Linked DNA regions of Homo sapiens: regions 1, 2, 3, 4 and 6 are each linked to region 5. Evidence: promoter capture Hi-C in human tissues and cell types (Jung and others, 2019). All regions are on one chromosome and are shown on one strand. The core of a region is centred on a gene start or on the middle of the fragment in contact, and the rest is flanking DNA. Distances in the headings are between cores, read along the strand shown. Region 1 overlaps DRC11 (dynein regulatory complex subunit 11). Region 2 overlaps DRC11 (dynein regulatory complex subunit 11). Region 3 has its middle 29 kb from the start of ACKR3. Region 4 has its middle 7.7 kb from the start of ACKR3. Region 5 holds the start of COPS8 (COP9 signalosome subunit 8). Region 6 overlaps GBX2-AS1 (GBX2 and ASB18 antisense RNA 1).

Evidence for each region. Contacts are between HindIII fragments. The study calls those that stand out against the background at their distance.
Region 1: a fragment that was not itself captured here is called in contact with the fragment with the promoter of COPS8 in region 5 in 1 of the 25 tissues and cell types used here (dorsolateral prefrontal cortex).
Region 2: a contact is called between a fragment that was not itself captured here and the fragment with the promoter of COPS8 in region 5, in 3 of the 25 tissues and cell types used here (heart left ventricle, lymphoblastoid cells and mesendoderm cells).
Region 3: a contact is called between a fragment that was not itself captured here and the fragment with the promoter of COPS8 in region 5, in 2 of the 25 tissues and cell types used here (mesendoderm cells and thymus).
Region 4: a fragment that was not itself captured here is called in contact with the fragment with the promoter of COPS8 in region 5 in 1 of the 25 tissues and cell types used here (lymphoblastoid cells).
Region 6: a contact is called between a fragment that was not itself captured here and the fragment with the promoter of COPS8 in region 5, in 1 of the 25 tissues and cell types used here (H1 embryonic stem cells).

Annotation. Positions count from the first base shown.
Region 1 is chr2:236,412,121-236,416,557 of GRCh38, forward strand. All of the region lies in intron 8 of DRC11 (dynein regulatory complex subunit 11), which reads right to left. Among named protein-coding and RNA genes, the nearest start is that of IQCA1-AS1, 23 kb to the left of the region's middle. The HindIII fragment of the contact is 3,273 bases long and covers 44-3,316 here.
Region 2 is chr2:236,375,627-236,379,927 of GRCh38, forward strand. DRC11 (dynein regulatory complex subunit 11) reads right to left here. Exons shown (of 19, transcript NM_024726.5): 13 at 1,477-1,559. Among named protein-coding and RNA genes, the nearest start is that of IQCA1-AS1, 13 kb to the right of the region's middle. The HindIII fragment of the contact is 4,498 bases long and covers 1-4,236 here.
Region 3 is chr2:236,538,695-236,542,929 of GRCh38, forward strand. It overlaps a transcript of ACKR3 not described here. Among named protein-coding and RNA genes, the nearest start is that of ACKR3, 29 kb to the right of the region's middle. The HindIII fragment of the contact is 4,922 bases long and covers 123-4,235 here.
Region 4 is chr2:236,559,932-236,564,360 of GRCh38, forward strand. It overlaps a transcript of ACKR3 not described here. Among named protein-coding and RNA genes, the nearest start is that of ACKR3, 7.7 kb to the right of the region's middle. The HindIII fragment of the contact is 7,257 bases long and covers 1-4,429 here.
Region 5 is chr2:237,082,458-237,087,138 of GRCh38, forward strand. COPS8 (COP9 signalosome subunit 8) reads left to right here and starts at 3,432. Exons shown (of 8, transcript NM_006710.5): 1 at 3,432-3,585; 2 at 4,670-4,681. The coding sequence starts at 3,508. It overlaps COPS8-DT (COPS8 divergent transcript), which reads right to left and starts at 3,364. Exons shown (of 3, transcript NR_187934.1): 1 at 1,699-3,364. RefSeq lists enhancers at 2,478-3,372, 3,013-3,562, 3,373-4,267. The HindIII fragment of the contact is 6,775 bases long and covers 1-4,641 here.
Region 6 is chr2:236,189,205-236,193,795 of GRCh38, forward strand. All of the region lies in intron 1 of GBX2-AS1 (GBX2 and ASB18 antisense RNA 1), which reads left to right. It overlaps ASB18 (ankyrin repeat and SOCS box containing 18), which reads right to left. Exons shown (of 6, transcript NM_212556.4): 6 at 4,255-4,591. Among named protein-coding and RNA genes, the nearest start is that of GBX2, 23 kb to the left of the region's middle. The HindIII fragment of the contact is 5,443 bases long and covers 1-4,050 here.

The DNA.
Region 1 (4,437 bases), core at 430-2,929, 670 kb before region 5:
TCTGGATTCAAGTGATCCTTCCATCATGGCCTCCCCAAGTGCTGGATTATAGGCGTGGGCCACTGCGCCCAGCCAATTCTCACTTCTCATGGCAGAGGGACTCAGGAGGCAGAAAGAAAACCTTCCTTTTATCCTTCCAGAAATTCCCAGTTGGAAGACTATATAGGAAGTTCATGGTGCTGGATTTCTTCCTGCCTTCCATGCTGTTCCCATCCCCCAGTTGGTTTTAGCTCTTCCTGCTGCCTCAATATGTGGCTGTAATCCAGATTCTCCAGCCTCCATTCACATGAATTTTCCTATACCTCATCCGTGCCCCACCTTCAACTAGAGTTTTCCTGTGCAGGGATATGTCCTGATCCGCACCACTGGTCTTTATCTCTCCTGAGTTTGTCCTGAACTTCCAGCTGTTGAACCATAGACAATGGTTTGACTCAATAGCTCTAAAGCCAGCCGGTCCATCTGTTCTTAATCTTACCTCTGTTCCACTCAAGATACCTGGAGTTCACTTCAATTCCTTGGTCTCCTGTTTCTTCCACACGCTGTCAGCCAGGCAAGTCATCCTTTGTGGTATCTCTTGCATCCTTCGAGATGTCTCTTGCGTCTATTTCATCTTTTTATATCCAGTACTTTCACCCAAGGGCAGATCTTCATCTGAGCATTTATTCATGTCTTCAAAAATAATTACTGCATAGCTCTTGAGTTCCAAGAGCTGTCAGAGATGCCGATCAGAGTTTGGGTCACTCTAGCTGCTGTAGGGGAATAGGCTGTAGAATGGCAGGAGAGGAGGTGGGGGCACTGGCTGGGAGGCTGGTATAGTTGCAGCTGTGAGAGGCAATGATGCCTCTTGGTCAGGTGGTTGCCGTGGAGATGGGGAGATGTGGGCAGACTTGGGCTGTGAGCGTAGGCTCCTGAAAGAGTCTCCTGCCATTCCATATCCCTCATGAAGCCTCCCCTGCCACTCTGGTGCCTAAGATCATCACTCTCCTTTGAGTCTGCAGTGCCTCCATTGGCCCTTTGCCTGTGTAACCAAATATATCCTTTCTCTAAGCAGTGATTTTTGAGCTTTTTATAAAAGGGACCTCTTGAAAACATGAAGAAAGTCCACACACCTTTTCCCCAGAGAATGTTCCTTCCCATGAAAGTTTACAAACAACTGCAGGGTGTTTAACCATGGGGTCCCTGTTCCCTAGGCTAAGGACTCTATTATCTCTGTCACCCACAAGCCAACCTCTCACTTCTTTCCATCTTCTTCTCTTATTGTATTTCAGTGGGCACAGAAGATGCTCCAGACATACATTTCCTTGATGGCACCCTCATTCCTGATAACTTCCTTTGGAAATGCATGACATTCACTTGTCCATTTTTGTAAAGTCATGCAAAATTTGGTTTGAAATGTTCTAAAATAACCTAAGAATGTGGTTGGCTTAATGGTTCAATTTGGAGCACCTCTTTGGGCCAAGGGATTGGAGAGGAGGAGCTGTGGTCAGAGTTAGGTCTGCTGGCACTGCAGATAAACAAATGTTTTCAATGTGAATTGTGCTGTATAAAGGTCCAAGGGTCTTTCCAGAAGAAGTTAGCACTAAGTTAAAGCATTTTGAGGCTGGAGTGCATTTAGAGAAGACTCATTAATGTTCATGTGATCATGTTATGACAGGTCAATACCACTTTAAATCATTCCAAATGGTCTAACATGTGGCTTGAAAAATAACAGAGGAAACAGTTGTAAGGATGATTGCATAGTGCTCTATTACTGCGACTTTTGTTTCTAAAGCCAATGTGAGGGCCACACAACTGTGAGACAAAGGCGATTACTTTGGTATTGAAAGCACCTTTGCAGGACTGCTATCAGTTAGCAGAAAATGTCCTCCTGGCACTAGCATTGTCTTCTGTTAAAGTGCTTTCCACAGAGCATTCCTTAACTGCAGTCCACAACAATTCTGGATTTAAAACTGAGAACTCAAAAGAAAGACTATTTTTTTTGAGAGTTCTGTATATATTCTAGGTGCTAATCCTTTTCAGATAGATAGTTTGCAAATATTTTCTCCCATCCATAGCTTTTTTTTCATCCTCTTCACTGGGTCTTTCAGAGAGCAACAGTTTCTGATTTTGATGAGGCCCAATTTATACATTTTCCCTTTTATGGATCCTGCTTCTGGTGTCCAGTCTAAGACCTCTTTGCCTAGCTCTAGATTCTGAGGATGTTTTTCCTATGTTTTAATCTCAAAGCTTCATAGTTTTATGTTTAAGTCCATGACCGATTTTGAGTTTAATACTTGTGTAAGGTGTGAAGTTTACCTAGAGATTCATTTTGTTGCCTATGAATGAGAGACTAATTTTTAGAACCTCTTATTTGAATGTATTTATTGCGCTTCTTTTTTTGTTTTTAGTACAGATGGGGTCTCGCTGTGTTGCCCAGGCTGGGTGCCAACTCCTGGCCTCAAGTGATCCTCCTGACCAAGCCTCCCAAAGTGCTGGGATTACAGGTGTGAGCCACTGGGCAGGACTACTGTGCTTTTGTGTTTTCTCTTCCACTAGCCCTGAGCTGAAGACGAACATCCCAGAATGTTCTGTTTTCTTCTGTCTTTCAGTATCTCAGTATGGAGGGGCTCCAGATGGATCCAAATAAGGAACTGCGAACGTTCATATTTTAAACATTAAACTGTTTCACCAAGTTTCTTGATGAAAAGATCAAATGCAGGCAAGATTATTAATCACAAGATATTTTATTCTAAAATGGTCTTGTGTACAATTACAGAGATCCACCATGACAATCCTGCTCTTTCTCACTCCACTAGCCCTGCAATAAATTGGAAATTCACACAGAAACACTGATTCATTGTGAAATTCAACCGAAACATTCAGCAGTTCTCATGACTTTTTTTGCACTTATAATAGATTTTTTCATATTTATGTTAATTTGTAACGATCTCATGGACATGTAAAGCTTTTAGCTCTCTACCTGTGTGACATTCAGAAAATAACCTATTTTCCATTTAAAGAGGTTAGTTGAAATATTCAGATAGGATTATCCTATCTAATCCTATCTGAATATTTCAACTAACATATTAATATTTCAATTAAAACATGAGGTCTTTTCAAGTTTTCCAATTATGCATATAGAACTGGCAATTGATATGTGGTCTTGTCAAAATAGTGAAAGAACAATCATGCAGCTGGGCCCTGTGAGGGCTGGGATAAGCCAGCGTCCAGACAAGTTAGACACAACTATTTTCCTCTCTCTTCTCCCTTGCCCTCTAACCATGAGGAATTATAGTGCCTTTTGCTATAAGTCAAAATGTCAGTTCTCACAAAAGGATTTGAATAACTGGTCTCAGGAATGGTTTGAGGTACTCTAGGGTTGATACCAGAGTAAGACTTTTAAAAGTCTCTGGAAAGGGTAGCAGCATAACTTAAATATATCAATTTTTATTAGAGATGACCATTTCTTCTTTTAATAATCACATTGTCACTATGCAGATCTGCATTTTTCATGAAAAACTTCATTTCTGATTCTGAAGGCGTTTCCCCTTCATTTGCAAGCATTTCATAAATGCTGATGTTCTTAAACTTTGCTTTTTGTTCAAAACTGTTCATCGTTAAGTGACTCTTTAATAGCTAGTTAATAAAATACTTTCACCCAACAAAGACCAGATTGTGTAGCTGGTAATTTCAGATTTACACGGAACAAGCTTCACTAACAGCGAATTTTTAATTTGCAAGTATAAAACTCCCTTGTGCATATTTAGAGGAAGAGATTCTTAGAATAAAATTGGAATGCTTCCAATTCTCTTTATTCTTAGGCACTTCTTCAAAATTGTCTCGCAGAGTAAGAGTATGATTTTTAAAATTAACTGTATTCAGGGGGCTTTTTTTTTCCAGAACAAGCTAGAACTTCTGGGGTATAGGCAGAACAATAGGGCCCTAGGTGGTCTCCCAGATCGGGTTCCCTGGAAACACTCAGATGGAGATGGATGTAGGTGGTCTACTGGGAACACCACCCAGAAGGAAGAGAGGGAGGGAAGCAGCCCTGGGCAGAGGGAGAAGCTAAGTTATGATGCAATTGCAAGAGAGCTATCAGCTAATCCCAAAGGGAGCAACAGAAGCTGGGAGAACCCTTGGAGTTGTCCAGGCAAGGTGAGGGGGCTGGGCTTTGGTACTATCACGTGACTGTCCTTGGATGCAGCTGCCCCAGAAGTGGTGTAACCTCGCCTGTAGTGGCTCCCTTAGACTGGAGCAATTCCTGGGGTGGGATTTAGCTGTGAGTGTCAGCACTGTCATGTGGGGAGCCAGGTGCTTGAGTGCCTTGGTCCTGAAAGGGGTATCCAAGGGGCCCAACTCAGCATCTACTGCCAGTGAATTGGGTTGTGCCCCAAATGAGCAGTAAGGGGTCTCTTCTTTTGTTCATTCAGTGAACATCAGTGGAACGTGGTTAAAGAA
Region 2 (4,301 bases), core at 738-3,237, 710 kb before region 5:
TCTTGCAAAGGGATTAAAATAACCACCCTTTGATCAAAGGAGAATGCCAGCCTTCTTGCCCTCACAGACCAAAATTGGGTCAATGTAAATACCAGGATGGATAATGATAGGGACAGACGATAATACATTGAATAAAAAAAGAATCCATGTGTCTACACTGATAACGCAATTTTAAAAGATTCCACACTTCCTCACAGAAGAATGATATCTATTCAATGTAGAAGGAATGATAGAAAAATCTCCACTTTTACAACTGCTACAGCAATAACTGATGCAGATACAAAATCATCAGTGGGTGCTAAAACGCTGCCTGAGAGGCTGCTGGGAACAGAATCTCCACAGCCTCAAAATATCACCCCTTGGATTGATTGTTCATTAATTATAAAGGGAAAGATGATGCTTTACAGTGGAGAAATCCCGGGAACAGCACCTAAGCCACAGGATTAAACTTAACCTCACCACTGATGGGACAAAGTGGCATTAAGTGCCCCCAGTGGGAAACACTGACAGGGAGACACCATCATTTTCCTGTCAAAATGTTTAACCTGAATCGAATAATGAGAAAACCATGACACACATTCAATTGAGAGACAGTCTGTGCACAGCTCAGACTCTTCAAAAATGTCAGTGTTGTGAAAGATGGCGGAAGGCTGGGAAACTGTTCCTGACGGAAGGAATTACGGGAGACAGAAGAGACACAACAATCACTTGCACCATCCTTGGCTGGATTTTGGATGGAGAAAGACAAGTATTTATACAGGACATTATCAGGACAATTGGGAAAGCTGAAGGTTCACTGTATATTAGGTAACAGTATTGCATTTGATTTTCTGAGTGATTTTCCTTCTGTGGTTATGTAGGAGAATGTTGTCATTCATTGGGGGTAATTTCTTCATAAAAGTAAAACTAATAACTGCATTACGGTAGTACAGTTATGAGGAATTTTAAGCTTTAAGTGTGTTTTCAGGTCATCATGGTGTTTTTTAAAAATTTAGAGAAAACCATTAGGTGAGGCTGTGATAACAAATGTCCCCACCTCATTCCTCCCCAATATTTGTGTCTCTATTGGAAGGTATCTTTTGGAAAGAATTCCTCCAGTAAGGATTCTGTTGTGGAGGCCTTAGGTGCTGCCCCAGGTGCATTTTTTACAAGTGAAATCATTAACAATTCCCCATTTCCTTAAATCAGATTATGCCAGAAAGAATGCACCAAGGAACCTTGCTAGTAGGTTAAAAACCTGCTTCTATTACGTTAGGGGAGAGAGCTGCAACCATTTTATTAAGAGAATCTGTTAGTCCACAGCATCCTCTTAGGTTATTTGAATCAATTCAATCCAACAAACATTTACCAGGAGCCACCATCGGCCAGGTTTTGGCTTGAACAAAAATGTAAATAAAACATATTTCCGGCTGCTGGGATTTCAAAACACAAGAGGTGACACGTGACACATACATGTATTATTCTCTGTGTACTCACCAATGTAATCAGAGAGGTTGACTTTCAGAGCCTGGATCAGTAATCCTTCTTCCACCAGTTCCTTATACAGAGACTCGATGGTCCTGGGGAGAAAGCAGAGTGTCTGTTCCAGAGGCACACACACAGAAATCGGCGGTATTTCTGTTAATGATCACATACGCGGAGAACTTAAACCAGATCTATTTCAAAGTACATTTGTTCATATGCAAATAAAAGGATTTTTGAAGTGTTTCTACAATTTGGGGATAAATTAGGCTTTTTAAAAACAATACTTTCACTCATCCATGTGTGTATCTGATGTTTCCCATTAATAAGAACGATATCTTTGGGCGTCTGGGACCAGCTCTAACTCCTGCAGTCTGCCCTTCCATCAGTCTTCATGATGGCACAAATATGAATTAGAAATTACCCAATAATAGTAATGCAATGGACCTATAATTATATATTCGGCTAGCATCTTCAAGCTGTAGTACATCATTAATCCTTTGTGAAATTTATGTTTCCTTTTAACCCAATTGCACAATTGTTTGAAAGAAACATCTACAAAGAACAAAGACTTATACTGAAGATAATTCTTATATGGAAGATAAAACGTCTAAAGCAATGAGGGTGATGATTTTTTAGGAGGGTGTTATACTTTACAGAGTGTTTACAGATGTCAAAACCACTTCTCTAAAAGGACCTTGAGCATATAGCCAGCACATTGGTAATTTATACTAATTGAGAAAAAAATGGACATAGTATCCCACATAACGGATGAAACTCCCAATGATACTTGCTGGGGTTTGGCTTGCAGAAATTAGATAGGTTAAACTCAAATATTATTCAGTATAATCCTTCGAGATGTTTTGTCTTTTCCTCTTCTTTATTCTCCCATCCTACTCTGGTCTTTCTCTAAGTTGAGAATTGTAAATACAACTTTATTTAGACAGTTCTTCTGACTGTCCTGTGATCCAAGTTAGTGTGATTAAAAGATACCCAAGAATATCAGTTAGACCCAAGCCAAATACTATTCGGGGAAATGTTAATCCAATGACCCTAGTCTTTGGATGACTGGAGTTGTATTGCATCAAACATTTAAAGTAGTATGCCCTCTGCTGAAAGTTAAGAAATATTTAATTTAGTGGAATTTAGGATAGCAATATTTGACCCATATATATCAAGGAAGTATCAACTGTAGTGTTTTAACTTGAATACTTATTTAATATAAACAATATACGCATAAAATATTAACATAAATTTGAAGAAGATTCTCTAACAATCGAACAAATGATATTAAGAAGGTCTGAGGCTAGGTGTGATGGCTCACACCTGTAATCCTAGCACTTTGGGAGGCTAGGGTGGGCGGATCATTTGAAGTCAGGAGTTCAAGCCAGGCTGGCCAACATGGTGAAACCCCATCTCTACTAAAAATACAAAAAAATTAGCTGGGCCTGGTGGTGGGCAACTGTAATCCCAGCTACTCAGGAGGCTGAGGCAGGAGAATCGCTTGAACACCAGAGGCACAGGTTGCAGTGAGCTGAGATGGCGCAAGTTCTCTCCAGCCTGGGCGAAACAGCGAGACTCCGTCTCAAAAAAAAAAAAAAAAAAGCTAGAAGACACCGTGGCACAGTGTGTGAGCATGGGCTGCACCCTCCTCAAGGGATGGGACTCCGAGGCCCCTCTGCCCCCCAAATCTGCCCCAGGAGGTGCCGGTGTTTACGCATGGACAGATGTGTGCCTCCCCAGGAACTGGGGCACCTGAGACTCAAAACGCTGACCAGCTGCTTCTTCGGCAGCAGTCAGCCACAGCATCTCGACCTGGAACTGCTTCTCAAACAATGCAGCCTTGAGTGGAGAAACCTGCAGCCCCTCCCCCTATGGATGTCCCGTGACAGCCATTTCTCTAGAGAGCAGAAACCCACACTCCCCCGACTGTGTTTCCAGGGGCTGCTTGCCAGGGCCGCGGCAGTGTTCTGGCCTCCCTGGAGGCCACAGATGCCCAGTGCCCCTCTGGGTGCTCTGCCCTCCTCTTCCCCCCGCAGAGAGCTCTAGGCAGGGCTTTCTCCCTCACTGAGCTTCCCTCCAACAGAGTTTGGGGAGAGTAATGCTGGGACACAGGGAGAAGCAGGAACCCCCAAACAGGGTAGCGACAGGACTAAGGGAAGCGGAGGGAACCCCCAAACAGAAGAGTGACAGGACCAAGGGGAGGGAACCCCCAAACAGGGGAGCGACAGGACCAAGGGGAGGGAACCCCCAAACAGGGGAGCGACAGGACCAAGGGAGAGGGGAGGGAACCCCCAAACAGGGGAGCGACAGGACCAAGGGAGAGGGGAGGGAACCCCCAAACAGGGGAGCGACAGGACCAAGGGAGAGGGGAGGGAACCCCCAAACAGGGGAGCGACAGGACCAAGGGAGAGGGGAGGGAACCCCCAAACAGGGGAGCGACAGGACCAAGGGAGAGGGGAGGGAACCCCCAAACAGGGGAGCGACAGGACCAAGGGAGAGGGGAGGGAACCCCCAAACAGGGGAGCGACAGGACCAAGGGAGAGGGGAGGGAACCCCCAAACAGGGGAGCGACAGGACCAAGGGAGAGGGGAGGGAACCCCCAAACAGGGGAGCGACAGGACCAAGGGAGAGGGGAGGGAACCCCCAAACAGGGGAGCGACAGGACCAAGGGAGAGGGGAGGGAACCCCCAAACAGGGGAGCGACAGGACCAAGGGAGAGGGGAGGGAACCTCCAAACAGGGGAGCGACAGGACCAAGGGAGAGGGGAGGGAACCCCCAAACAGGGGAGCGACAGGACCAAGGGAGAGGGGAGGGAACCCCCAACAGTGGAGCGACAG
Region 3 (4,235 bases), core at 1,334-3,833, 540 kb before region 5:
GCACGGTTGCCAGATAAAATACAGACTGCCTAATTAAAATTGAATCTCAGATGAACAAGGAATAGTTTTTCAGTATAAGTATGTTCCATGCAGGTAGATGTCATGCATATTTCTGATATTGCTTGGGATATTCTTATCCTAAGAAGTGATGTGTGGTTTCCCTGAGATTGAAACTTAGCTGAGCATCCTGTATTTTTATTTGCTAAGCCTGGATACTCTAGCTCAGGGCAAAGTAGGCGCGGACAGGCTGTGTTGGCTCACCTTTCTGGTCAGGGCTATAGATTGTGCTCTCAGGTTCTAGGACTTCATGTAGCTGGAATGATGCAGTATGCCTTCTTTTGTGTCTTGCTTCTTTTACTTGGTATATTATTTTGAGATTCATCCCTGTTGCTGCCTCTATTGTAGTTTGTTCCTTTTTATTATTGAGTAGTATTCTACTGTAAGAAAATACTACAGTTTATTATCACGTCTGGATGGGCCTTTGGGTTGTTTCCAGTTCTTGTCTATTGTGAATAATACTTCTATGAGTTTTGATAGACACATTTGTGTGTGTGTGTGTGTCTCTCTCTCTCTCTCTCTCTTTGTGTAAACATTATTTTCATTTTTCTTTTCTTTTTTTTTTTTTTTTTTGTTTTTTAGACAGAGTCTCACTCTGTCACCCAGGCTGGAGTGCAGTGGTGCGATCTCGGCTCACTGGAACCTCTGCCTCCTGGGTTCAAGCAATTCTCCTGCCTCAGCCTCCCTAGCAGCTGGGATTACAGGTGTTCACTACCACGCCTGGCTAGTTTTTGTATTTTTAGTAGAGGTAGGGTTTCACCATGTTGCCCTGGCTGGTCTCGAACTCCTAACCTCAAGTGATCCACCTGCCTCAGCCTCCCAAAATGCTAGGATTATAGGCATGAGCATCCGCCTTGGCCTCCCAAAGTGCTGGAATTACAGGCATGAGCCACCACATCCAGCCATTATTTTCATTTTTCTTGGGTAAATACCTAATAGTATAATTGCTGGATCTTATATTGTATTAGTCTGTTCTCATGATGCTAATAAAGACATTTCTGAGACTGGGTAATTTATAAAGGAAAGAGATTTAACTGACTCACAGTTCTACATGGCTGGAGAGGCCTTACAATCATGGAGGAAGGCAAAGGAGATGCAAAGGGACGTCTTACATGGCAACAGGCAAGAGAGCATGTGCAGGGGAACTCCCATTTATAAAACCATCAGATCTCATGAGATTTATTCACTACCATGAGAACAGAATGGGGAAAACTGCTCCCATGATTCAACTATCTCCACCTTGCCCCGTCCTTGACACAGGAGGATTATTACATTTCAAGGTGAGATTTGGGTGGGGACACAGCCAACTGTATCATATAGTAAGTGTACATTTAACTTTATAGGAAACTGCAAAACAGTTTTCCAAAATGGCTGTACCATTTTACACTGTGGCCAGCAATATGTGAGTATTCCACTTGTTCCTCATTCTTGCCAACACTCGACGTTGTCTGTGTTTTTATTTAGTTATTGTAGTAATTGTAAAATAGTGTCTAAGAATTGTGGTTCTAATTTGTGTTTCTCTGATGATAATTCAGTTGAAAATCTTTTCATTTGCTTAATGACCATTCATGTATGTAAATAAATTTTGTGTTCGTCTTTTGTCTGTTTTTTTTTTTGTTAGGTTATGTGTCTTCTTATTGAGTTATACGGGTTCTTTCTATATTCTGGACACCAGCCCTTTGCAGATATCTTTCTCCAGTCTCTGACTTGCCTCTTCATTTTTATAGGTGTCTTTTGAAAAGCAGCAGGTTTTACTTTGATTAACTCAAATTTGTCATTTTTTACATTAATGTTTAGTGTTTTTCATGTTCTAAGAAATCTTCCTGCCTCAAGGTCACAGAACATTTATTTCCTTATATAAGTTATATAATTTAATCTTTTACATTTACATCTAGGATCCATTTGGAATGAATTTAATGTGTGGTGCAAAATAAGGGTTGAGGTTCATTTTTTTCCTCACGTGGTTATCCACATTTTTCCTCCATTTACTGAAGAGACCACCCTTTCCTCATTGATCGCATTGGTGTCTTTGTGGGAAATTGATCAATCATGTATGTGTGTGCCTGTTTCTAGGGTCTATCCTGCTCCATGAATTTGCACATCTGTCTTTACACAATAGCACACAGTCGTGATTATTGTAACTTTATAGTAAGTATTTAAATCACTTGTACCCAAATACCTGTTATAGATTACTCCACTTTCTGGCAGAATCCAAGCCAAGACAACTGGGGACATCTTACTGCACAGCTCCTTGCTAGCATCTCTACATTTTTACATTGGTACCTGTAGTGGCTTGGATCTGTTTCTGACCCTGTCTCTGGGCTAATCTATAAAAAAGCATTGACTGGCTATCCTTACCTGATATCACTGTAGAAAACATGTATTTTCCCTTCCTCTCTGCAATAATCGTATAAGATTATAAAAGTATAAGTTGTTGAAAGTTCTTAAAAATAAAGCTTACTTTGCATTTCTAATTTCTTAACTTTCAGTCTTTTTCTACTTTTGCTCCAAAAATGTTACCACAACAGACAAATGCCAGTGGTTATGTGTTAATACCAGGAATTTCAGCCTTTTTTAAATACCAAAGAACGTGTGGTTCATGAAACATCCCTCGTCTGACACACTCCCATAGCCTTATTCAAGTTTCTAAAGAATTCCCCTGTCCAAGAACTGGGATTCCACCTCTTTCTCTCCTTCTCAGAAATGTGCATCTAAGTCAAAATGATTGAGTCATATTATTATAAAGAAAATCTCCCAAGGGTCAGTACTTCTTATTTGGTACTTTATTGAGAGTAACGGGTTGCCTGTGTCCTAGCACAGACCTGCTGCTCCGTGTTTTGTTTGACTTAGCACAGAACCACGTACACAGCAGGGACCACGTACACTTAACGCCTGTATAGTGGGTATAAAAATGATATGGTTTGGCTGTGTCCCCACCCAAATCTCACCTTGAATTGTAATAATCCCAATGTCAAGGGTGGGGCCAGGTGGAGATAATTGAATTATGGTGGTAGTTTACTCCATACTGTTCTCCTGGTAGTGAATAAGTCTCATAAGATCTGATGGTTTTATAAATGGGAGTTCCCCTGCACATGCTCTGTTGTCTGCCACCACGTAAGATGTGACTTTGCTCCTCTTTCACCTTCTGCCATGATTGTGAGGCCTCTCCAGCCATGTGGAACTGTGAGTCTATTAAACCTCTTTTTTTTTTCCTTATAAATTACACAGTCTTGAGTATGTCTTTATTAGCAGCATGAGAACGAACTAAAACAACACATAAACAATCTACAAATTCAGCTGGATGCCACCATAATGCTCTGTATGCTACTGCAAGTTAATACAGTATGCTCAGTCAAGTCTGTCTACAGCAGGGAGATGTGCCTCCACCTTAGTGATGGACCTCTTGGTGATGAAAATTTAGGGCCTAACAAGAGACAGATTGCACTGTCTCTTCCCAAGCCCATGTTCAGTGACATCATGTTGATATTTTCCAATCAGCCAAGATGGGAGTTTTTACGCTATAGACATTGGCAAGAGCTAAAAATTAAAGCTTTTTTCCCCCTCAAGGAGCAGATTGTTAAACACCAGCACATCACTGGACATGACCTTTCTGCTGGTAGGGAGGCAAGGTAGCAGTTGACTTTTCATAATGTGCTGTTGCTGTGTGGGAAGAGGAAGGGCTCATCCTGACTGAGGCAGTCATTTTAGGGACCGACATCTCCCTGCTGTAGACAGACTTGCCTGGGGACACTGTATTAATTTGCAATATCATGTAGAGCATTATGATGGAATCCAGCTAAGAACAACCTCATAACCAGTCTCCAGAGGTCCGTCCAGGAGACGGCGTGGCCAGTGGTGGGCGCCCTGGGCTGTATGTCCCCATCTGTGTCTGCCTTTGTGCCACTCATTTACACCAGCAATTGCAGGAGACTGGGACCCCCTCTCTTCAAAATTACTACCCCTCTTTATGTAGAGGCACACTGCCTAAAAAAACAAGTTGGAAAATTTTCCAAATAGCTTTGACTCAATAATTATCCGACAGCATGTGGACTATCTCTTGGGTCTTTTATACCATCAAACCAAATTGGCAGCATGAATCTTATAATCCTATTTACACATGTTTTGGGTTAGGAAGGAGTGGTACAGATTTTGTTCTAAACAGCATCCATTAGTTACTA
Region 4 (4,429 bases), core at 235-2,734, 520 kb before region 5:
TTTATAATAAGTCATGAAATTGCAAACTGTGAGTCTTTCAACACTTTCCATTTCAAGAGAGTGTTAGCTATTTTTAGGTTCTTTGCATTTCAATAAAATTTAAAATCAACTTGCCAATTATGACAAAAAGAAATTTCTGGGATTTTGATTAGGACTACATTGAATCTATGGAGCAATTTGGGAGAGCACTGACATTAACAACATTTATTTCAAATCTTTTGAATACATATCCAGAAGTGGGATTGCTGGATTATATGGTAGTTCTATTTTTAATTTTTTTTGAGGAGCCCCATATAGTGTCCCATAGTGGCTGCACCATTTTGCACCCCTGCCAACAGTGTGTAAGGGTCCCAATTTCTCCACGTCCTCACCAGCACTTGTTGCCTTTTTTTTTTTTTTTTTTTGTAAAGGCCATCCTGATAGGTGTGAGGTGATATTTCATTGTGATTTTGATTTACATTTTCCTGATGACTAGTGACATTCAGCCATTAGTCTTGAGTTCGATGATCTTTTTTCATATGCTGATTTGACATAGGCATGTCTTCTTTGGAGAAATGTCTATTCAAGTCCTTAGCCCGTTTTTAAATTAGACTATTGTTCTTTTTTTCCCTGTCGAGTTGTAGGAGTTTCTTATATATTTTAGAGATTAACCCTTTACCAGATAAATGGTTTGCACATATTTCCCCCCATTCCATAGGTTGCCTTTTTACTCCATTGATTGTTTCCTTTGCTGTGCAGGTTTTTAGTTTGATATAATCTCAGTTGTTTATTTTGTCTTTCGCTGCCCGTGCTTCTGATGTCATTGCCAAAATCAATGTCATGAAGCTTCTCCCCTTTGTTTCCTTCTAGGAGTTTTACAGCTTCAGATCTGGGTATTTATCCAAAAGACTTGAAACTGGGGTCCTGAGGAGATACAAACACTTCTCAGTTCATTAAAGCACTATTCACAGTATCCAAGGTAAGGAAACAGCCTAAATGTCCTTTGTCAGGTGAATGGATAAAGGAAATGTGGTATATACATACAACAAAATATTACTCCGTCTTAATAAAGAAGGAAATTCTGATATACGTGACAACATGAATGAAACTTGACATTTTGCTAAGTGAGAGAAGCCTGTCACAGAAAGACAAATACTCCATGATTCCATGTATATGAGGTAGCTAAAATAGTGAATCTCATAGAATCAAAGAGTGGAATGATGGTTACTAGAGGCGAGAGTTTGGGGGATGGGAATTACTAATCAGTAAGCATAAAGTTTTGATGTATAAATGTATAACATTATATCTAGTCAACAATAATATATTGTACACTTAAAAATTTGTTGAGAGGGTAGATCTCCTTTTAAGTGTTCTTACCACATTAAAATAAAATCTAAAAAAAGAAGAGTATGGAAAGAAAATAACAACACAAGTGAGTCTCCCAATCCATGAACAAGATCCTTCTCCATTTATTTTATTTTTCTTTAATTTCCCTCGGTACTATTTTTGTTGTTTTCAGTTTAGAGGTCATGACTGTCGTTTGTTAAATCTATTCCTATGAATTTTATGTGTTTCAAGGTGATATATACAAACACAATTGACTTTTTTTTTTTTTGAGACGGAGTCTCATTCTGTTGCCCGGGCTGGAGTGCAGTGGCACGACCTCCGCCTCCTGGGTTCAAGCGATTCTCCTGCCTCAGCCTCCTGAGTAGCTGGGATTACAGGTGTGTGCCACCATGCCTGGCTAATTTTTGTATTTTTAGTAGAGATGGGGTTTCACCATGTTGGCCAGGCTGGTCTCAAACCCCTGATCTCTGGTGATCCACTCACCTTGGCCTCCCAAAGTGCTGGGATTACAGGCGTGAGCCACTGCACCTGGCCGCATGACTGACTTTTGTATACTGAGTTTGTATTGTTCGGATTTTCTAAATTGGCTTATTAGTTTTTGAAGTTGTTTTGTACACTCATCAGGATTTGCTGCATAAATAATCCTGTCAACTGATAATAAAAGTTGTTTTACATCTTTCTTTCCAATCCATATGGCTTTTATTTCTTTTCTTCTTCCTTGTGCATTAGCTAGAGATTCTAGTACACTGTTGAAGGGAAATGGTGAAAATGAATATCCTTGCTTTGTTCTCCATTTTAGAAGTGAAGTGTTCAACCACTGAGTATGATGTTGGCTCTAAGTATTCATATGAGGCCTACGTCAAATTCATACATGTCGAATATCAAATTGGGGAAGTAAGTCAAATCAAAATCATTCTATTTTTAGTGCACGTGAAGTTGTTATCATGAATTGATTTTGAATTTTGTCAAATGCTTTATTTTATTAATTTAGCAAGTTATACTATTTTCAAATGTTAAACCTATTTTGCATTTCAGGTATAAATCCCACTTAGTCACAGTATATCGTACATATGTTGGATTTGCTTTGCTTTTTTATTTTTAAAAGGGTTTTATGTCTCTCTTTATGAAGGATATTGGTCTATAATGTTTTCTAGTAATGTTCAGTTATTTTCAGTTTGGGTCTCTCATAAATAGTCCTGCTGTAAACATTTTTGAGTATTTCTTCTGGTGCAATGTATACAACTTGAAGTTGGGCATGTACCTTGCAGTGAAGTTTCTGGGTCACAAGGTAAGAGTATGTTCAACTTTAGTGAATACTGCCAAAGTGGACATGCCAATTCACATTCCTACCTCCAGGGACAGCAGTGTCCCTCAGAGTGTGGACTATGAGCTATTTGTTATTAGACTGCAACGAGATAAGTTCAGAAATTAAGCGTCAGCATTTAGAAACTTTTATAGAAATTTGATGTTGCTTTGACATACAAATACATAGGCTCTTCTCGTCCAGCAGTGCATTGACCAGTTTGGATACTGTCACACTTGCATTATGAGGCGGGTGTGGGAGGAGCTTCACGTGCAATGGGGACCATGTGTTTTGGTCTGCAACGGAAATTTAAAAGGAAAGAAAGGCTGGTCTGTCACCATGTAGCGCTGGAGAAGCACTGGTGCATGAGAATTCTGGTGGTTCCACATCCTTGTTCACATTCAGTAATTTTCATGTAAGCCCTTCTGGTTGGTGTGCAGTTGGATGGCATTGTGACTACAGTTTGTATTTCCCCAATAACTAAGGAAGTTGCCCAGCCTTTTCATAAGTGTATTGGTTTCATATGTGTATCTGCATATTCCTAGGTGTGAAGTACTTCCAATTTTCAAAGTATATGTGTTAAGTTTTCCTAAAACATTTACCCTGGATACTGTCCCCCTGCCCTACTCCCATATTTCCATGATGAAGCAGGTGGGCAAAATAGGGAGAGGACAAAAACCTGATTCACAAGTGTCATTCACCTGACTTTATTCATTTAGTCAATATTTATGGGCATCCGGCACGCGCCAAGCACAGTGTGTGGAAGCAGGGATGCAGCATTGAATAGAATAGCAATGTTCTTGCCCTCTAGGGATTTATACTCCAGTTGGGGAGAAGATAGATAGTGCACTGATACCTTTGGATAGTAGTAAGTGCCACGAAAAAATAGGATAAGAAGAGAGTAACTAGGATGGGAAGATTCTTTGGTTAGAATGTCGAAAGAAGGTTTTCTAAAGCAATTATATTTAAGCCTGCATCAAAATAATAAGGAGGTGGCCACATAACAGGCCAGAAAGAGAATTCCAGGAAATGAGAGGTGCAAAGGCCCTGAGGTAGAAGCAGAGTGGTCTGAGGATTAATTAGAGAGCACTCCTCCACTTTGGTCAAAATTGACATGAGAGATGCCATAGACAGTGCGGTGGATACTGGTGTTGCTGTTCCCAGATTCCGGGACCCCCTTAGGTTCTGATGTGCCTCCCCTCCACCGTTAACGTGGGTTTACTGCCCAGACTTGCGACTGGAACTGACCCTTGAGAGACTGTCTGTAGGTGGGTTACTGCAGCCGCTGTGCCCCCACAGGCTGTGATCAGGAAGTATCTGAGGGGCTGCACCCTCCCTCCTACCACCCAGCAGCCCTAATCCAGTAGTTGGAGGATGTAGGGGTATGAAACTCCAGCCCCTGTGACAGCAGCTGGGGTGAGGCAGGAGAATAGGGTCTGGAGACAGGGAGCCTAAGGCCCACCGGCCTCTGACTTCTTGGAATTGGACCGAAAGGAAAACTCCACCTTTCCATGCCCCTGCGACAGGGGCCAGAGGCCCCTCCCTCTGCAAAAACCCCCTCTCGGGAAATGCCTCTGATTGGTCAGAGGCCAAGCTTCACTTCAGCCTGATTGGTCACAGGCCAATCCTTCATTGGCATGAGGTGTAACCCAGTTGGAGGACTCTATTGGAGGCCTCTAAAGGGTACCTAGGGGTGTTACCAAATTCTTCTAGTTTAATAAAAACCCTAAAGAACATTGCAACTGGGGCTCTTGAGCCACCTGATGGATCCTGCTCCCACTCTGTGGAGTGTAGTTTCAC
Region 5 (4,681 bases), core at 2,182-4,681:
TCCATGATCCAATCACCTCCCATGAGGTCCTCCTCCAACACTGGGGATCACATTTCAACACGAGATTTGGAGGGGACAAACATCCAAACTGCATCAGCCATCCTAGTACAATTTCCAACCTCCTCAATCACTGTGCTTCTCCCAGAGAAGAGTTATGGGACAAGGGCCAGTTTGCACAAGGAGAAGACCAGGTGTGGTAATGGGTCTGAGACCCCCATCCTATAGCCTCCGGAGTGCATGATTCCCTTCAGCACGCTGACCCCATCCCTCGTTGCAAGAGCAGAGAGAAACGCAGTCCTTCCCACTCCAAAGCCAGCATCTCCAGGAACAGAGGGTCCTTGTGGGTGCCTCTCATTGACTTTCTTGCTTCTTCCCAGTCTCGATCCCTCTTCTGAGTCGCACCTCCGGAGATGACAGCCTTTTACACCACACTGCTCTTTCCTGTCCCCCTTCACTTCTCTCATTTACTATCAAAAGTCTGGGGGGAAAGGTGGCTCCAGCACAGTACAGTGACAACTTAAAACTGAATGTCAACCATCACAGCCCTGAAGACGCTTCAGTGCTTCACTGCCACTTGGAGTTCCCAGTGTCCAGGCCAGGGTCTCACCTTAGACCCCAACTGCTCCCAGAGACTCCTCTCTGCCCCCCAAGGACTCTCCTCCTACCCTCTCTGGCATCCAGGCTCCAACTCCCAAATTCCTGTACTGGCCTTCCAAAGAACAGCTTAGTCCTTTAAGTGACACCCCATCTCCACCTCTAACCTGTGATATGTATCAAAAGCCTCACCGGGATTTCCTATTCAGCAAACAGCCACCTTTGTAGGTTTCCACCTCTTAGAGGCCCAAAGCACCTGCCAAAGCGTTCACATTATAGTTTTCCCTTTAAATGATCAAATAGCCAAGCAGGGCTTCTATTGAATATTTCTTTGCCCGAAAAGGGTTAGAGACCATTATTACAAGCTTCAAAATCCTGCTCCTCATAGTTCTGTCAAGTGATCTTAGAATCATACTGCCCTCAGTCCTTCTCTTCCTTGCAGCCGTGGATGAAACTCTGTTGCTTTATTACTCCAAGATCTCTCTAGTTCTGCTAACTACTTATGTGCCCTTCTATTTAATGTTGGCAGTTCCTTGAGGAACACACAAGTGTTTTTTTTTTTCTTTACATTTCATTCAGGGAATTACTAAACAATCATTTCCACACAGAGATGTTGTGGATTACGCCAAAAAAAAAAAAAAAATCAAGGATGGCTGTCTCTGTCTTGAAATGCTTAATAATTTTATCTGTAAACTTGTGGTTTGTAAGTGAGGTCCATTAAGACAATGGAGCATGAGCCAGGGAAACGGGCCTCTACGTGTGGCCACTGATGTTCCATACAGCATTCATAATGCACCATGCACACTGAATTCCCTGTGGACCCCTGATGTTGCGAGGCCAGCAAGACTCAAAGTGAGCACAAGGTACTCGTGCTGTATCTACAACTGAGGGAGCTGGGTGCTGACACCCCAAAAGGCCGCACTTTTCCCCTTAAGAGAGTAAACTTGTTTCGAAGGCAGAAAGAAGGCAATGGTGTCTTAAGAAGCATGAAGAAACCATATTGTATGAGTCATGGTTCTCTAGAGGGACAGAACTAATAGGATATATATATTTATATATATATATATAGAGAGAGAGAGAGGAGTTTATTAAGTATTAACTCACATGATCACAAGTCCCACAATGGGCAGTCTTCAAGCTGAGGAACAAGGAGAGCCAGTCCAAGTCCCAAACTGAAGAACTTGGAGTCTGATGTTCGAGGGCAGGAAGCATCCAGCGTGGGAGAAAGATGTAGGCTGGCAGGCTAGGCCAGTCTCTCTTTTCGCATTTTTCTGTCTGCTTTACATTTCTAGCTGCACTGGCATCTGATTAGATGGTGTCCATCTAGATTAACAGTGGGTCGAACTTTCCCAGCCCACTGACTCAAATGTTAATCTCCTTTGGCAACACCCTCACAGACACACCCAGGATCAATACTTTGCATCCTTCAATCCAATCAAGTTGACAGTCAGTATTAACCATCACTCATATCATATATTTTCTTATTCATGCACTTCTTTATATTAGACACCTGATCATGCCAAAAGGCCAGTCCATAGTTCTTTTGCTTTTCAGTCCTTCCTTACGCATCGGTGAGTCCCAGGTCGAGAGTAGAGGTAGAATTCGTGCACGTAAAGTGCGATGAAAACGGGCAAGTTCACTTTGTGCAGCATCTGTTTTTACCAGCGTGGTTCTGGTAAAAACAAAATCTATATGCATGTATAAGCTATGAAGTACAAATTGCATAATTTCTGTGATTCCACATATGAGATCAGTGCACTTATATTAGTATTTAAAACTGGCATTGCACAACGTAAAGATGGATGGTGAACTTCATGCTAACAATTTAAATCTAAATTTTTCTTGGAATGATATTAAATAACACATAAAAACACTATGAAAAGAGAGAAACTGAGAGGAAAGAGAAAGTTTTATATTTTATGACCTCAGAGGCACTTTCTTTCTGTTTTTTGAACAAGGAAGCTCCGCACTTTTCTCTGAGCTCCACAAATTATGCAGCCAGCCTTGCAGCAGGCAACACATCAAAGCCTCTTTCCTGGGGGTCTAGTGAGGGATGTAAAACACAAATATGTTAATAATATACAATATAATGTCACTAACAGTAAGTGCTGTGCTAAACAAAAGCCAGGATGGCTACAGCAAGCCGGAGGGGAGCTGAGAATTAGATGTAAATTCTGAGGGATGGGAAGGGCCCTAGATTTTAGGGCGTTGTGCAGAAGAGTAACCAGATCTGCTCTACGTTTCAGGAAAGGAAAAAAAAATTCCCTCTGGCTGCGGTTCCGAGAATAGCCTGGAAGGAGGCAGGGGTCCCGGCTGGAGAAGCGTGGCTCCGGGGTGGGGCGTGCAGGGCTAGCCCGGGCGGGGGACGCTGCCCAACAAGCAGGTTTGCGGAGACTCACACCTTAGATTCTGAGTTTTTAAGCTTGTTTCCTCAGAGCAGGGAACTCACGAACGTTTCGTGAGCACCTACGGTATGCAGGGTACGGTGCGGAGCCCTAGCGTCACTGACGACCGGGACAGCCGAGCAGCTGCAGGATCCGTCGTGTTCCCCAGCAATTTTAATATTTAAAAATTCGTTACTGTTGCTGTTACTTGTTTTCTATGTATTGGATGTCTTCGTGAAGAACCCTCAAAAGTGCAACGAACTCCTCCCTGCCAGAGGGCGGCCGCGCGCTCTGAGTACAGCTTCCCGCGGAGCCGGCCAGGTCCTCCAGGGCACCGAGAAAGCCGGCCAGAACGGCGGCGCCCTATCCCGGCCGCAGCGATGTCTGACGGCGCCCCGGAACTGACGGTCTGGTACGCAGGGGCGCTCGGCGGCAACGGCGGCTTTAAACGTCATCGCGGGCGCGACGCCTGAGGGACAGTCTGGGGTTTGGCTGTCCGGACGGTGCAGCGGCGAGGCCGGCCGCGAAGATGCCAGTGGCGGTGATGGCGGAAAGCGCCTTTAGTTTCAAAAAGTTGCTGGATCAGTGCGAGAACCAGGAGCTCGAGGTAACCCTTTGCGTCGCGCTGGGAGAAACTGCGGAGTAGTCTTAGGCCCTGGGGCGGCACCAGTTTCCAGGGTAACGGGGTCTGAGGCTAGCGGGCTTTGGGAGCTCACGGGGCGGGCGTGGGAGGTGGACGTGTGGATCCCTGACCGCCGCAACCTGCTCCGACCGGGCCCGGTCTCCCCGAACTCGCCGGGACCTTTTTGTTATGTGTCTTCAGCTTGTGAGCCCGAAAACCCTGTGCGTCTTTGCTCCAGCACCTACCGATGAGCTCATATTAATTAGGCATCTTTCCTTCCCAGTATCGGGTTGGGAGAGGGTAGTAAAGTGGGTTTTATTAAAGATCTTGGTATACACACACACACTAACACACACACCGCAACTCACACGCACACCAAGAAAAATGTGACCATTGTAACCTTTTTTTAACTCACAAAGCCTTTCTCGTAATGTTGTCAAGTTAGCTTGCCATTTTGTCTTCAGTAAGACAGATGAAAGTTATGCAGCTGTTAAAGTTAATGTTTTTCTTAGACACTTAAAAAGGGTTTATATCATTAGTTTTAAAATTAAATAAAGGAGACAACATCCAGAAGCAGCAGCTCACTAATAGATAATAGATACTTTCCAGTTGAGTTAAAATGGAAAGAATTGTCTTTGCAACGCAGCTGTGGTGATTTTCTGTCTCTTATTCAGGACGCTTGATGTAATGGGCAGAATCAGAATGCTTCAGGAATCTGTCGAATTTGTTTCTTATAATAGTAAGATCATTTAAATGGGAATTTGAGAACTGGGGAAGGGGATCCACTTACATATTCTTGAATGTATAAAGAAACTGAAGCCCAAAGGGAGATAAATCAAAGCTGATGACGAATATAAACTTAATACTCAGAATTTTCGTGTTTGATACTTCTCTAAGCTGTTTCTAAATCTATAATAGGACTATAAGATTACTTATAGTCTTAGACTAAAAAGGCTTACTTTTAAAATTAGCATTTATAAAATATTATTTTAAAAATGAAAGTTAAAGGGTAAATGAGGTTTTTAAAATTTTGTGTTGTTTTGTTTTGTTTTCATTTTTGGCCTTCTAGGCCCCTGGAGGA
Region 6 (4,591 bases), core at 79-2,578, 900 kb before region 5:
TGAGAATCGTGTTGCTGTTTTTAAGCTGCAATTTGGGGAAAAATAAGCTTTTGGAAACCTAATAATTGATTATTATTTATTAGATTTTTAGAAGTGTAAAGTCAGTATGTTTTCATTTATTTATTTATTTAAACAGAGTCTTGCTCTGTCACCCAGGGTGGAGTACAGTGGTGCAGTCTCGGCTCACTGCAACCTCCACCACCCAGGTTCAAGTGATTCTCCTGCCTCAGCCTCTCAAGGAGCTGGGATTACAGGCAACTGCCACTGTGTCCAGCTAATTTTTGTATTTTTAGTAGAGACGGGGTTTTGCCACGTTGGTCAGCGGCTGGTCTCGAACTCCTGACCTCAGGTCATCCACCCGCCTTGGCCTCCCACAGTGCTGGGATTACAGGCAGGAGCCACCATGCTTGGCCAAGTCAGTATTTTTTTTTTTTTTTTTTTTTTTTGAGATGGAGTCTCCCTCCGTCACCCAGGCTGGAGTGCAGTGATGCAATCTCAGCTCACTGCAACCTCCACTTCCCGGATTCAAGTGATTCTCCTGCCTCAGCCTCCCGAGTAGCTGGGATTACAAGCATATGCCACCATGCCAGGCTAATTTTTTGTATTTTTAGTAGAGACTGGGTTTTGCCATGTTAGCCAGGATGGTCTCGATCGTCAGTATGTTTTAAAAGAGCTCTGCCTTCTTCCAGGACTCTTAAATACATATTTAAAATTTTAGAAAGTCAGCCAAACTGTTTTCTATAGTAGGGTGGGGTGGAAGGGGTGGCTGGAGGGTATAGTCTTAGAAGACAGGCATATTTCCATTTTCAGAATTCAATGAGGACTGTGCTCCTTAGAGGCCATGGTGGCTGTATTTCTTACTGTTCTTACCCTTGCTATTTAAATAACATTGCTGGCTGGGCATGGTGATTCATGTCTGTAATCTCAGCACTTTGGGAGGCTAAGGCAGGCAGATTACTGAGCCCAGGAGCTCAAGACCAGTCTGGGCAACAAAGCGAGACCCCATCTCTACAAAAAATAAAAAAATTGATGGTGTGCACCTGTAGTCCCAGCTGCATGGGAGACTGAGGCAGCAGGATCCCTTGAGTGCAGAAGGTCGAGGCTGCAGTAAGCCACATTCAAGCCACTGCACTCTGGCCTAGGTGACAGAGTGAGACCTTGTCTCAAAAAAAAAAAAAAAAAAAAAAATTTGCTATTTTTTTCCCCATTTTTTACAGTCTCTATCTTAATATTGGGCTGTTTTCTTTTTCTAATGATAAAACAATCCTAATAACAGAAGGAACCATTTATCAAGTTCTTTCTCTGGGTTGGGCTCTGGGCCTGGGTTTTTGCAGTTTCTCTGCTCAGTGGGGCCTGCAGATCAGGATCCAAGGTTAACAGAAACATCCAAATGCTTGGAGCCACAGAATCTGGGCCCCACTCCAAACCTCTAGAGTCTGAATCTGCATTTCAACAAGATCCCTTCAAATTTGGTGAAGACCTGCCTTACACCAGACATCTTACTAATTCCTAAGTAAGTGAGAGAGGCGCAGATATGTTCACTTCCCAGGTAAGCAAATTGAACCAATTTCAGTTAAGTCATTGTTCTTGGTCAGTGGAGAAGCTCTGAACCTATCTCTAAGGTGTTACCTTGGGCTGCTACTCATCTTCCAGTGTATTGCTTCCCTTTCCAGGACAAAGCAATCTTCCTAGAGTCCCACTGAGACCAAACCTGCTCACTTGCTTCGTGGTTCCTCACAGCCTGTCCAGTGAAGTTCAGAATACTTGGTCTGGAAGCCAAGTACCTCCTGATCTGCCCCCACCTTCTCTAGCCTTGCCTCCTTCCAGCTGCCAAAGCATGGGGATCCTCCTAGCCAGGAGGATAAATCACTATCCCTCCATGGAACCCTGTACTTCCCTGCACACCTGCCTTCATTCAAGTTTTCCTTTGGAGGCAGTGGTAACTCCTGAAAGTCTATGTAGGAGAGGCTTGGGGAGAGTCATCTGCCTGGGATGGGGATCTGAGGGGTCTTGAAGCTGGGTTTACGTAGCCCTTTTGTAGGACAGATCAATTGTCCATCTCAAAGGGTGGGTGAAGGTGGGTCAGCTGATGGAGCTGGGGGATGCTGTCTTATCACTCCCTGGGCAGGTCCACTGTGTTAAAACTTGATTGTCCACCAAGGTGCACCCTGGCTAACTCCTTCATGATGTCCATCCTCACTTCCTGGGCTCTGCCTGGGCCCCCCTTTCACTCCATGATGGGCTTTACTTATGGTGCATATAACATCCCACCTCACCCTGCAGTTATTTGCTGGGGTCTGAATTCCCTTTCCAGATTCTACCAATGGGAGGGTGGTATGGTTTGTATATTTGTTCCCTCCTAATCCCATGTTGAAGTTTGATCCCCAGCATTGCAGGTAGGGCCTCATGAGAGGCGTTTGGGTCACAGGGCCTTGGTGACCTCCCTGCAGTATTGAGTCAGTTCTTGCTGGATTAGTACACTTGGGAACTGATTGTTAAAAAGCCCAGCACCTCCTTCGCTCTCCCTTGTCCCTCTCTTGCCATGTGACACACTGGCTCCCTTTCATTTTCTGCCATGAGTAAAAGCTTCTTGAAAGGCCTCACCAAAAGCACATGCTGGCACAATGCTTCTTGTACAGCCTGCAGAACTGTGAGCTGAATAAACCTCTTTTCTTTATAAATTGCCCGGCCTCAGCTGTTCCTTTAGAGTGATGCAAAACAGACCAATACAGAGGGAGTGTCTCCTCTGAGGTTCATTGGGGCAGCACCTTGCGCTGGCTGTAATGGAAAAAAGAGAGCCACTGCTTGTCCTTGGAGGATGAACATGAAGAGTCTTTGCTTTAAAATACAGTGTATTCATAGAAAATTTGATGTCTCATAGGGCCAACAGATCAGGAGATGACTGCTATTGAAAAGGTGTTTTATTGATCATTGTTCCTAAGAGGAGAGGGTATGCTATGACATGGGGGCAGCCCATGAGGAAGCCCCAGGGTCTTTCAGGAGGCAGGGGAGGAATGGGCAAGAGAGGGCAAGGCTGAAGTTTGTCTAGTTTGGATAATTTCAGCAGACTCTGGGGCATAGGACTTTCCCAAGTTGTGTGGCACTTGCTCTGGAGTAGACAGTGGTCTGGCATGTGAGAAAGAGTGGGATATAAGAGGTGGTTGAGGTGTGGGCTCTGGGCTCCAGATTGGTTGGCTAACATTGGAAAAGCATGCTTTGTGTGGAATTGTTTACTGTTGCTAAGAACCAGCTAAGCCTGGTGGGTGGGGGGCAGTCAGTTCCTCCTGGGTCAGCAAGGCCCCAGATGTCAAAGCATCTGAATAGAGAAAGTAAGCTGGGGGAGGGGGCTCACTCCTGCAATTCCAGCTACTCAGGAGGCAGAGGCAGGAGGATTACGTGAGGCCAGGAATTAGAGCCTGGGCAACATGCGAGATCCCATCATCTATATAAAATAGAAAAAATGATCCCAGTGCAGTGGTGTGCACCTGTAGTCCCAGCTACATGGGAGGCTGAGGCAGGAGATCACTTGAGCCAAGAAGGTCGAGGCTGCAGTGAGCTATGATTGCACCACTGCACTCCAGCCTGGGTGACAGAGTGAGATTCTGGCATATATATATCTGGGCACGTGGAACCAACATACGTTTTCTTCCTAGCCAGACACTGATGGGACAAGCAGGCTTTTCTATGGCTAACTGATCCCAGATAAGTGCACTGGAGAGAGATGCACCATTTTGTGGGAACCACCCTCTACCCCAAGGTGTATATATATATGGAATAGAGAAAATAAGACAAGGTTGATATAGTCCTTGTTGTCTAGAGCATCTCTGTTGGCATGTGACGCTCAGGCTGAGCTGAAGGCCCCTTTGATCAACCTGTGTCTGTTCCTGGCATCTGACTTCCCAGACTGTTCCTGGAGCTGGAGCAGTGGCTTTTGGTGAGGGTGTCACATGAAGACTCACACAGGATGGAAACTTCCATTCACCATCCTGCCGGTGTCCTCCGGGGGAGCTCTGGGCTGTAATATGCTTGGGAGCACTGAGAGCACCGACAGGCCCTGGGCAGGTGCACGTGCCTTGGTTGCAAGTGTCCTTTCTCAACATGCAGGTCCGTTGTGATCTAGGGTACAGAGTTTCCCCGGGTGGTCGGGCCCCAGCGGGGTGAGAGGCCTCTCTGTGAGGGGACGGTCCCAAGGCTCAGGGGCAGCATGAGGGCTGCTAACACACTGGAAAAATACATATACAGTAGGTCCTTAAATAATGTTTTGTTTAATGTCATTTTATTATAACACCGATAAGAAACAAAACTGATTCGGCAGGGCATGGTGACTCATGCCTGTAATCCCAGCACTTTGGGAGGCCGAGGCGGGCAGATCACCTGAGATCGGGAGTTTGAGACCAGCCTGACGAACATGGAGAAACCCCGTCTCTACTAAAAATAAAAAATTAGCCGGGCGTGCTGGCACATGCCTGTTATCCCAGCTACCAGGAAGGCTGAAGCAGGAGAATTGCTTGAACCTGGGAGGCGGAGGTTGCGGTGAGCCAAGATTGCGCCAGTCTCAAAACAAACAAACAAACAAACAAAAAAACAAAAA